Regions from separate parts of the Homo sapiens genome. Here region 2 is linked to region 1. The links are contacts of gene promoters, found by promoter capture Hi-C in human tissues and cell types (Jung and others, 2019). All regions are on one chromosome and are shown on one strand. Each heading gives the region's core, a stretch centred on a gene start or on the middle of the fragment in contact. The rest is flanking DNA. Distances are from core to core; before and after follow the strand shown.

The links. Contacts are between HindIII fragments. The study calls those that stand out against the background at their distance.
Region 2: the fragment with the promoter of GALR3 here is called in contact with the fragment with the promoter of SH3BP1 in region 1 in 4 of the 25 tissues and cell types used here (aorta, heart left ventricle, lymphoblastoid cells and 1 more).

Annotation. Positions count from the first base shown.
Region 1 is chr22:37,638,419-37,642,558 of GRCh38, forward strand. SH3BP1 (SH3 domain binding protein 1) reads left to right here and starts at 1,251. Exons shown (of 18, transcript NM_018957.6): 1 at 1,251-1,428; 2 at 2,708-2,750; 3 at 2,956-3,060; 4 at 4,121-4,140. The coding sequence starts at 1,370. PDXP-DT (PDXP divergent transcript) reads right to left here. Exons shown (of 6, transcript NR_109952.1): 6 at 3,414-4,140. RefSeq lists silencers at 1-218, 849-998, 1,029-1,468. The HindIII fragment of the contact is 22,988 bases long and covers 1-4,140 here.
Region 2 is chr22:37,821,637-37,825,776 of GRCh38, forward strand. It overlaps GALR3 (galanin receptor 3), which reads left to right and starts at 1,746. Exons shown (of 2, transcript NM_003614.2): 1 at 1,746-2,129; 2 at 3,087-3,849. The coding sequence starts at 1,771. The coding sequence ends at 3,834. The HindIII fragment of the contact is 28,947 bases long and covers 1-4,140 here.

The DNA.
Region 1 (4,140 bases), core at 1-2,500:
CAATGAGTCCTGCCTCATTAGGGAGGAGAGAAGCAGCCAGTGAGTGTGCCAGGCCCTGGGCTAGGTGCTGGGAGTATGGAGATGTGTGGGGCCAAGGTCCTGCCTCTGAGAGGCGCCCAGTCTGCACCGGCACACAGTCTGCACCGGCACACAGTAGTGGCTCAAATAGTCTCAAACTAAACTGAAACTAACAAAGCAAAGTGCAGAGGGTGTGGCAGGACTCTGGGGCACACCCTCCCCTCTTCCCCACGCCTGCGGCTCCTGATGCCACAGGGGTGCAGGGTAAGGAGAGCCTACTGTTTCCTAAAGGCGCTCACATCTTGTAAAACCAGCAGTTATGGAGCACTTACTGTATGCCTAACTCTGTGTTGAGTGGAGGGCCAAAGAGGAGAACTACTGAGTTTGGGGGCAGTCAGAGCAGCACCTACATCATTGCCCTACAAGAAGGAAGGGGGACTGAGGCTGTTTGCCAGGAGGAATGAGAGGAGACGGGCTTCACAGATGGAGCAAACTGCCAGGAGATGTGGAGAACAGGGTGTCGCGAACCGCTCTGGGAGGGTTCCTGGTGGCTGAGGGGTGGCACGCACCTCCCTTAAAGGGAGCTGGCAGGGGTGTCTTGTCCACTCTGCAGAATGGGCAGGCCCAGGACAGCTGGCCCATCAGACCATTAGAAACAGCGAGTCCGGAGTTCCAGGGGCTTGTCCACGGCCACACAGCAGCCCGTGGCCCCAGGAAGCCAAAGCTCCCAGCCAGTCATCCAGTGGTGGGGGGTTTAGTTCCAGGGGGCCAGAGGTCCTCTGCGGAAGAGAGTGCAAGGCAGTATCCGCGGCAGGCCCAGAGAGGCCAGGACAGGTCAGAAAGGCCTACCCCTCTTTCGCTTGGTACCCTTTCCTCTTTGCGAGGGATGCAAAGGTTATTTATACTTCGGGTCTGCAGGCTGCGGGTGGGGCAGGCACCCCGCCTGGGGCGGGTTGCGGGCGCAGGGGCAGGAATGGGCTTACCTGCTTCCCGCCACCGGGGCTGGGCGGGGCGCTGCGGGGAGGAGGAGCCGGGCACAACCTGTGGACGGCCGCGGCCGGCGGACACACAGCAGCGGGGGCCCGGCCGGGGGTCGCCCGGGGGCCCGGAAGCCGGGGAAGAGCGAGGAAACCAACTTGGAGAGAGGAGTGACCTGGGGGCCGGGGGCGGAGTCGTGAGCGGGGGAGGAGAGAGCCGGCCGCCAGCAAGAGCCGCGCGGCGGCCCAGGAAGCGAGAGCGCCGCCCACCCATCCGGGGCAAGAGCCGCGCCGCAGGAGAGGCAGGCTGGACCGGGGGCTCCCCGGGCCCGCGACCCCCGCCGTGACCCCGCAGCCCCCAGCTCGCCCCCAAGATGATGAAGAGGCAGCTGCACCGCATGCGGCAGCTGGCCCAGACGGGCAGCTTGGGACGGTGAGTGTCACCCGCTTCCAGCCCCACTCTTACCCCGGCAGGACTTGAGGGGTCGTAAAAGGGTCGGGGGAGACGGGGGTGGGGGAGGCTGGGGACAGCTGGGCAGCCACCCTCTGAGCGGCCAGACTCCTGCTCTCTCTTCCTCCTCTCTGAACGCCGCCCCCGTCTCTCGGGCAGAGCTGGAGGAGCAAGGGTGGCCTTTGGGGGAAGGGATGCCCCCCCTTACCGGATTGGAGGGGGCTTCAGGCGGGAGAATGCTCTCTGCCCTAGGACGCTGGGACTTCTCTGCCTCCACGAGTCTCTAAGTGGATGGTCCTCCTGACCTCACTTGTCCCCTCTGGACAATGGGACAGTTCACCACCTCTGCTTGCTGGGCCGGGGAGGGAGGAGGGTCGATTAGGGCCACAGACCTGGGGCGAGGGGAGGAGATGGGTCCTGGCCTGGTGGGAGGAGGGGCCTGCCCCTGGCCTGCAGCGTCCCTCCCCCTCCCCCTCCCCCCAGCCCAGGGGCCTCCTGCTTCTGTCTCGTTTCTGCTTTTCCTGGACTCAGGTGGAAATATCCCCAGGTCTCCCAGCTCCCACCCCCAGCCTCTGAGCCGGTGGCACGGAGGCCGGAAGTTTGGGGAGCCTCTCAGAGCCTGTCTTCTCTGCTCCTCTTCCCCCAGCCTCAGGAGTTCCCCATTCTCTGGGTCCAGGGAGGGGACTGGGTGTCCAGAGACCTGGTTCTAGTCTCACACTGGCACAGATGCCTACATAGCCTGGACAGTCAGACCACCTTGCAGTGGGCCTTGGCATCCCCCATGTGTCCCCAGGTGGGGGCCAAGGGCCTGTGCACCCCTGCCCACAGCTGTAGTCCAGAGTGCTGTGTGACTGTGCCTAGGAGTCTGAGCTCCTGCACTTCCCGTTCTTGGGGCCAGCTAATACTCCTCATCCCGGGGTGGGCTGAGGATTTGGGAGTGGGCAGAAAAGAGGCTTCTGTGTCCCAAAGCTGGGCCCCGGGTGGGTCTCTCAGCCTCCCCTTTAGTTTCATCTGTCCGCCCTCTCTCAGGACACAGCCCTGGGTGGAGGAGGAAAAACCCATGTATCCTATTCCCACCCCCATGGAATGTGCTCCGACTGGGATGAAGCAACTGGGCCACCCAGGGCAGGCCTCAGCTGGGAGGGACAGTGGAAGCACTGGGGTCCAGGTGCCCTGCTGCGGGGAAGGGAAGTAGGGGGCGTTCTAACCCAGGCAGGCTCAGCAGAAGCACTCTCCCCCCCCCCCCCACCACTCCCCGCAGCACCCCGGAGACCGCTGAGTTCCTGGGTGAGGACCTGCTGCAGGTACGTGCCTGGGCCGGGCAGGTGGGAAGGCAGGCCTGTGCAGGCTGTCTCGGAGCAGAGGGCCGGGGCGGGGACGCCAGGTAGGGGCCTGGGTTGAGTCATTCCTCAAGCTGTTGGCCATGGGGTCCCCAGGGGACAGGAGAAAGTTTCCTGCTCAGGGGGAGACAGCCTCTCTTGATCCTTAACCTCCATACCTCCTTCCCAGGTAGAACAGCGGCTGGAGCCGGCCAAGCGGGCAGCCCACAACATCCACAAGCGGCTGCAGGCCTGTCTGCAGGGCCAGAGCGGGGCAGACATGGACAAGCGGGTGGTGAGTGGGGGGTCCCGGGAAGGAGGGGCCTGAGCAGGAGACTTCCATCCAATGGGGAAGCAAGGTCGGGGCTGGGGTTTCCTTGCCAGTCTGAGTGTCTGGCACCAAGGGCATGGAGACTGCTCTGTTCCAAGGCCCCTCTGGCACTGCACTCAAGAGGCCCTATACCTTCCCCATCACCTTTACCCCACTTCCCTGTGCACCAGTTCCCATAAGCCAAGGCCAGGCTTCTGACAGCACCTGAACTTCTCTGTCCAATCAGTGCGCAAGAGCAGGCTGTCAATGGGGCGGCCTCAGAGGGTTTCCTGAAGGAGGTAGCAATTGAGCTGGCTTTTGAGGGATACACGTTTATTAATCAAGAGGCAGCGTTTATTGGCTGATAACCGCCAGCTTGTTACTAACATATGAGTGCACTGTCTCATGGAACACTGGCACAACCCTAGGGGCAGGCATTGCTTTACACATGAGGAACTGGAGGCTCAGAGATAAAGTCACTTGTCCAAGGTCACATAGCTAGTAAGTGGCAGAACTGAGGTTTGAACCCTGGTCTCTGATCCCAGAGCAGGCATTCCCCGTAACTCCAGATGGGGTGGGAGTGTGGGGCCATGTTTTGGAATCAGTTGACAATTCAGTGTGGCCAAGGCAAGGAAATTGGGAGCCATAGAGCGTTTGAACTCAGCGGTGGCTAGGTCAGCCATATATACCCTGGGACAGGGGAAAGAGCTCCCGCTCCCATTCTCCCTCCACCTGTGTGACCTGGGGCAAGCTCCCTGCCCTCCCTGCATCTTAGTTTCCCAGTCTGCAGTAGGACTTGGTCATTCCTTCCTGCCCAGTCAAGTGGCTTCTGGGAAGAGGAAAGGGCACGCCAGATGGAGAGGGGCTCCATCCATGCTCTCAGGGAAATGTCACCCCCACCACGCCTTGTCATCTTGTTTCCACTCTCATCTGGGACTGTGGCCCTCCTGGGTTCCCTCCTCCCCTGCCCCAAGGGGCTGGCCTGGTGCTCAGGCAGGGTGGAGGGAGGCACGGACACTCATCGCCGGCCCCACCCTCCCTGCAGAAGAAGCTTCCCCTCATGGC
Region 2 (4,140 bases), core at 496-2,995, 180 kb after region 1:
CCTGTCTTGGCCTCCCAAAGTGCTGGGATTACAGGCATGAGCCACCGCGCCCAGCCTCTTCTTTTTTTTTTTTTTTTTTTTTTTGAGACAATGTCTCACTCCATCACCTGGGCTGGAGTGCAGTGGCGTCATCTCGGCTCATTGCAACCTCCACCTCCCAGGTTCAAGCGATTCTCCTGCCTCAGCCTCCAGAGTAGCTGGGATTACAGGCGCCCGCCACGACGCTCAGTTAATTTTTGTATTTTTAGTAGAGACAAGGTTTCGCCACATTGGCCAGGCTGGTCTCGAATTCCTGGCCTCAAGTGATCTGCCTGCCTCAGCCTCCCAAAGTGCTGGGATTACAGACGTGAGCCACCATGCCCGGCCTAGGAACCTTTTCTAAACATGGATTGGAGCAAGAAGGTGCAGGGATAGGGGATGGAGTCACATCAGGCTGGGCCACAGGAGGTGGGAGTGCCAGAGACTGGCTGGGCCCTGGGCACAGAGGGGTTAACTACAAAGCAAATCACAGAGAGCGAGATCAATGGGTTACTGGCTGCAGAGAGAGGAAAAGGCAGCAGCAACGCAGAGAGGCAGAGAAGAGCCAGGCAGAAGAGCCTGCCACCTGGGGGAAATCAGGGACTGAGGAGGAAGTGGCCAGTGGCTACTCCAGAGGGAGTGCCCAACTCCGGCTCAGCAGAGGGGGCAGAGGAGAGGAGGGGCCTTAAAGGCAAAGGGGGAGAAGTAGAAGGCAGACCAGTACCTGCAGGGAGGCACCAAGGGGCAGCCGCTGAATCAGGAGGCCCACCCAGCCCGGCCATTCCACCCAGGATCAAGCCCACTGCCCAAGGCGGAGGTGGGTGTTGCCCATCCTGGGCTTTGGGGACCTACTGCATGCTGGGTGCTGGGATGGGGGCAGACATTGCCTTTCTTCCCTACTCCCTGCCTGACCCCCCTTTCCCCTACTTTGTCCCACCACCCCAGTGGTCTCAAGCCTGCAAGGAGATCCACAGGCAGTAGGAGACATGGGCTGTAGAGTGGGATGGGGGTGAGCATGGGTGCGGTGTGCACACACACAAGTTGTCAGAGGCACCACCTGTTACAAGCTCTCAGATGAGCACTCTAGCTTAAGAGGCAGGATACCAGGGTGGCAACAGCCCCAGAGCTGCCATTTCGAGTGTGATATTATCCTCCCATGTCCCCTCTCTGGGCCTCAATTTCCCTATGTGCAGAGAGGAAGCAGTGACCTACACGGTCTTCCCAGTTTTGCCATTGTGATGATCTCACTATACTGGACCCTCCAATGACTCAGGGATGTTACCCGTGTTTTGCTAAGGCTACAGCTTGTAGCCAGAGAAAGCCCTAAACCCATGTCCCAGGGTCTCCCCTGAGCTTCAGATCCCCATTGAGAAGGAAAACATACCAGTTTCTGGGTTTGGCCCCTCCCCCCATCGCCATATCTTCATCCTACTTCGCTTGTGCCTTCCCCAGCCTCGTGGGTTGAAAGTGTCCCTCAAATACCTAGGTAGTCCTCCAGGCAGGACTCCAGGGGTGTTCCTTAGGAAACTGAGGAACTCTCACCCCTTGAACACCACGAGCTTGCTCACACAGTGACACTCAGCGATGACTTTGGCTCTGCTCTCCCCTCCTCCATCTCCCACGAGCTTCCAGCCCAGAACACCTGGCCAGACCCAGGTCGGGGGAGTTAGATCCCGGGGTCAAGCAACCAGAACTGGGGGCTCTTGCCTGAGGATTCCAGCTTCTCTTCCCAGGTGCCCGTCTGATGGGGAGATGGCTGATGCCCAGAACATTTCACTGGACAGCCCAGGGAGTGTGGGGGCCGTGGCAGTGCCTGTGGTCTTTGCCCTAATCTTCCTGCTGGGCACAGTGGGCAATGGGCTGGTGCTGGCAGTGCTCCTGCAGCCTGGCCCGAGTGCCTGGCAGGAGCCTGGCAGCACCACGGACCTGTTCATCCTCAACCTGGCGGTGGCTGACCTCTGCTTCATCCTGTGCTGCGTGCCCTTCCAGGCCACCATCTACACGCTGGATGCCTGGCTCTTTGGGGCCCTCGTCTGCAAGGCCGTGCACCTGCTCATCTACCTCACCATGTACGCCAGCAGCTTTACGCTGGCTGCTGTCTCCGTGGACAGGTGCGCTGTGCCTGGGGCCTGGCTGGGCAGGGCTGTGGGGGCGGGGGTTGGGGGAGGAGTCCTGAACAGATCCTCACTGGCCTTAGGAAGGAGAGAGTGGGGGACCAGAAAGGGAGGTGGGTGGGAGGAAACAAAAGCTCCCTGACCCCTCGCAAGCAGCCTCTGGGCACCTGCAGGGCGTGCTTGAGGGGACTGTCCTGCCCTTCCCCTCCTCCACTGTGAACTTCCAGAGGACGCCTCTGAGTCTCAAGTGGCAGCACAGGGTCTGGCACATAGTAAGTGCTCTGTAAGCGCGAAATGAATCGCAAAAGAAGCTCACGAATGCGTTCATCAGTTTTTTTGTTTTGTTTTGTTTTGTTGTTTTTTTTTTTTGGATCTTGGCTCACTGCAACCTCTGCCTCCTGGGTTCCAGCGATTCTCCTGCCACAGCCTCCTGAGTAGCTGGGATTACAGGCCACCACACCTGGCTAATTTTTTGTATTTTTAGTAGAAACGGGGTTTTGCCATGTTGGACAGGCTGGTCTCGAACCCCTGACCTCAAGTGATCCGCCCGCCTCGGCCTCCCAAGTGCTGGGATTACAGGCGTGAGCCACCGCGCCCAGCCCAGCTATTTTCTAACTGCCCACACCTGGCCAAGCTGTGCACACATCTGCTTCCACAGCTTGAAACTTGGGGTCAAATCCAGGCTCACTCCAGCTGATGACCCTGGGCAAGTCACTTCTCTCTGGACCTCATCTGACGCATCCATAAAATAATCCTAGAAATAACAAGTCACCGGGATCGGGCCCTTGCTAGGTGCAAGGGCCTAAGCACCTTGCGCGTTCACACCCTTAATCCCCGCCACGTCCCCCACGGTTCACAGGAGGCGCACTGGGCCGCAGGGCCCGGGCGCGGGACGTGGCGCGGGCCCCTGCGGGAGGGCACCTGCCCGCCCCGCTGACCAGGCGCCCTCCGCAGGTACCTGGCCGTGCGGCACCCGCTGCGCTCGCGCGCCCTGCGCACGCCGCGTAACGCCCGCGCCGCAGTGGGGCTGGTGTGGCTGCTGGCGGCGCTCTTCTCGGCGCCCTACCTCAGCTACTACGGCACCGTGCGCTACGGCGCGCTGGAGCTCTGCGTGCCCGCCTGGGAGGACGCGCGCCGCCGCGCCCTGGACGTGGCCACCTTCGCTGCCGGCTACCTGCTGCCCGTGGCTGTGGTGAGCCTGGCCTACGGGCGCACGCTGCGCTTCCTGTGGGCCGCCGTGGGTCCCGCGGGCGCGGCGGCGGCCGAGGCGCGGCGGAGGGCGACGGGCCGCGCGGGGCGCGCCATGCTGGCGGTGGCCGCGCTCTACGCGCTCTGCTGGGGTCCGCACCACGCGCTCATCCTGTGCTTCTGGTACGGCCGCTTCGCCTTCAGCCCGGCCACCTACGCCTGCCGCCTGGCCTCACACTGCCTGGCCTACGCCAACTCCTGCCTCAACCCGCTCGTCTACGCGCTCGCCTCGCGCCACTTCCGCGCGCGCTTCCGCCGCCTGTGGCCGTGCGGCCGCCGACGCCGCCACCGTGCCCGCCGCGCCTTGCGTCGCGTCCGCCCCGCGTCCTCGGGCCCACCCGGCTGCCCCGGAGACGCCCGGCCTAGCGGGAGGCTGCTGGCTGGTGGCGGCCAGGGCCCGGAGCCCAGGGAGGGACCCGTCCACGGCGGAGAGGCTGCCCGAGGACCGGAATAAACCCTGCCGCCTGGACTCCGCCTGTGTCCGTCTGTCTCACTCCCGTTCTCCGAAGGCGGGACGCCACCGGGCCAGGGATGGGGCAATGCCACGAGCTCTCTGAGGGGCGTTGAGTGGAGCGACTTGTCCCCGCTCCACAGCGGAGCACCAGCCCAGTGGACACCCCTGGGTGTGAATATGAACAGCACAGCCCGCCCCCAGCAGGGCAGCCCCCAGAGCCTGCCCAGAGCCAGCCTGGCAGTCCCTCTGCCCATTCTTCCAACTGGGTGACACCTAGGCCCTGCTTCCTCCACCACCTCTTAACTA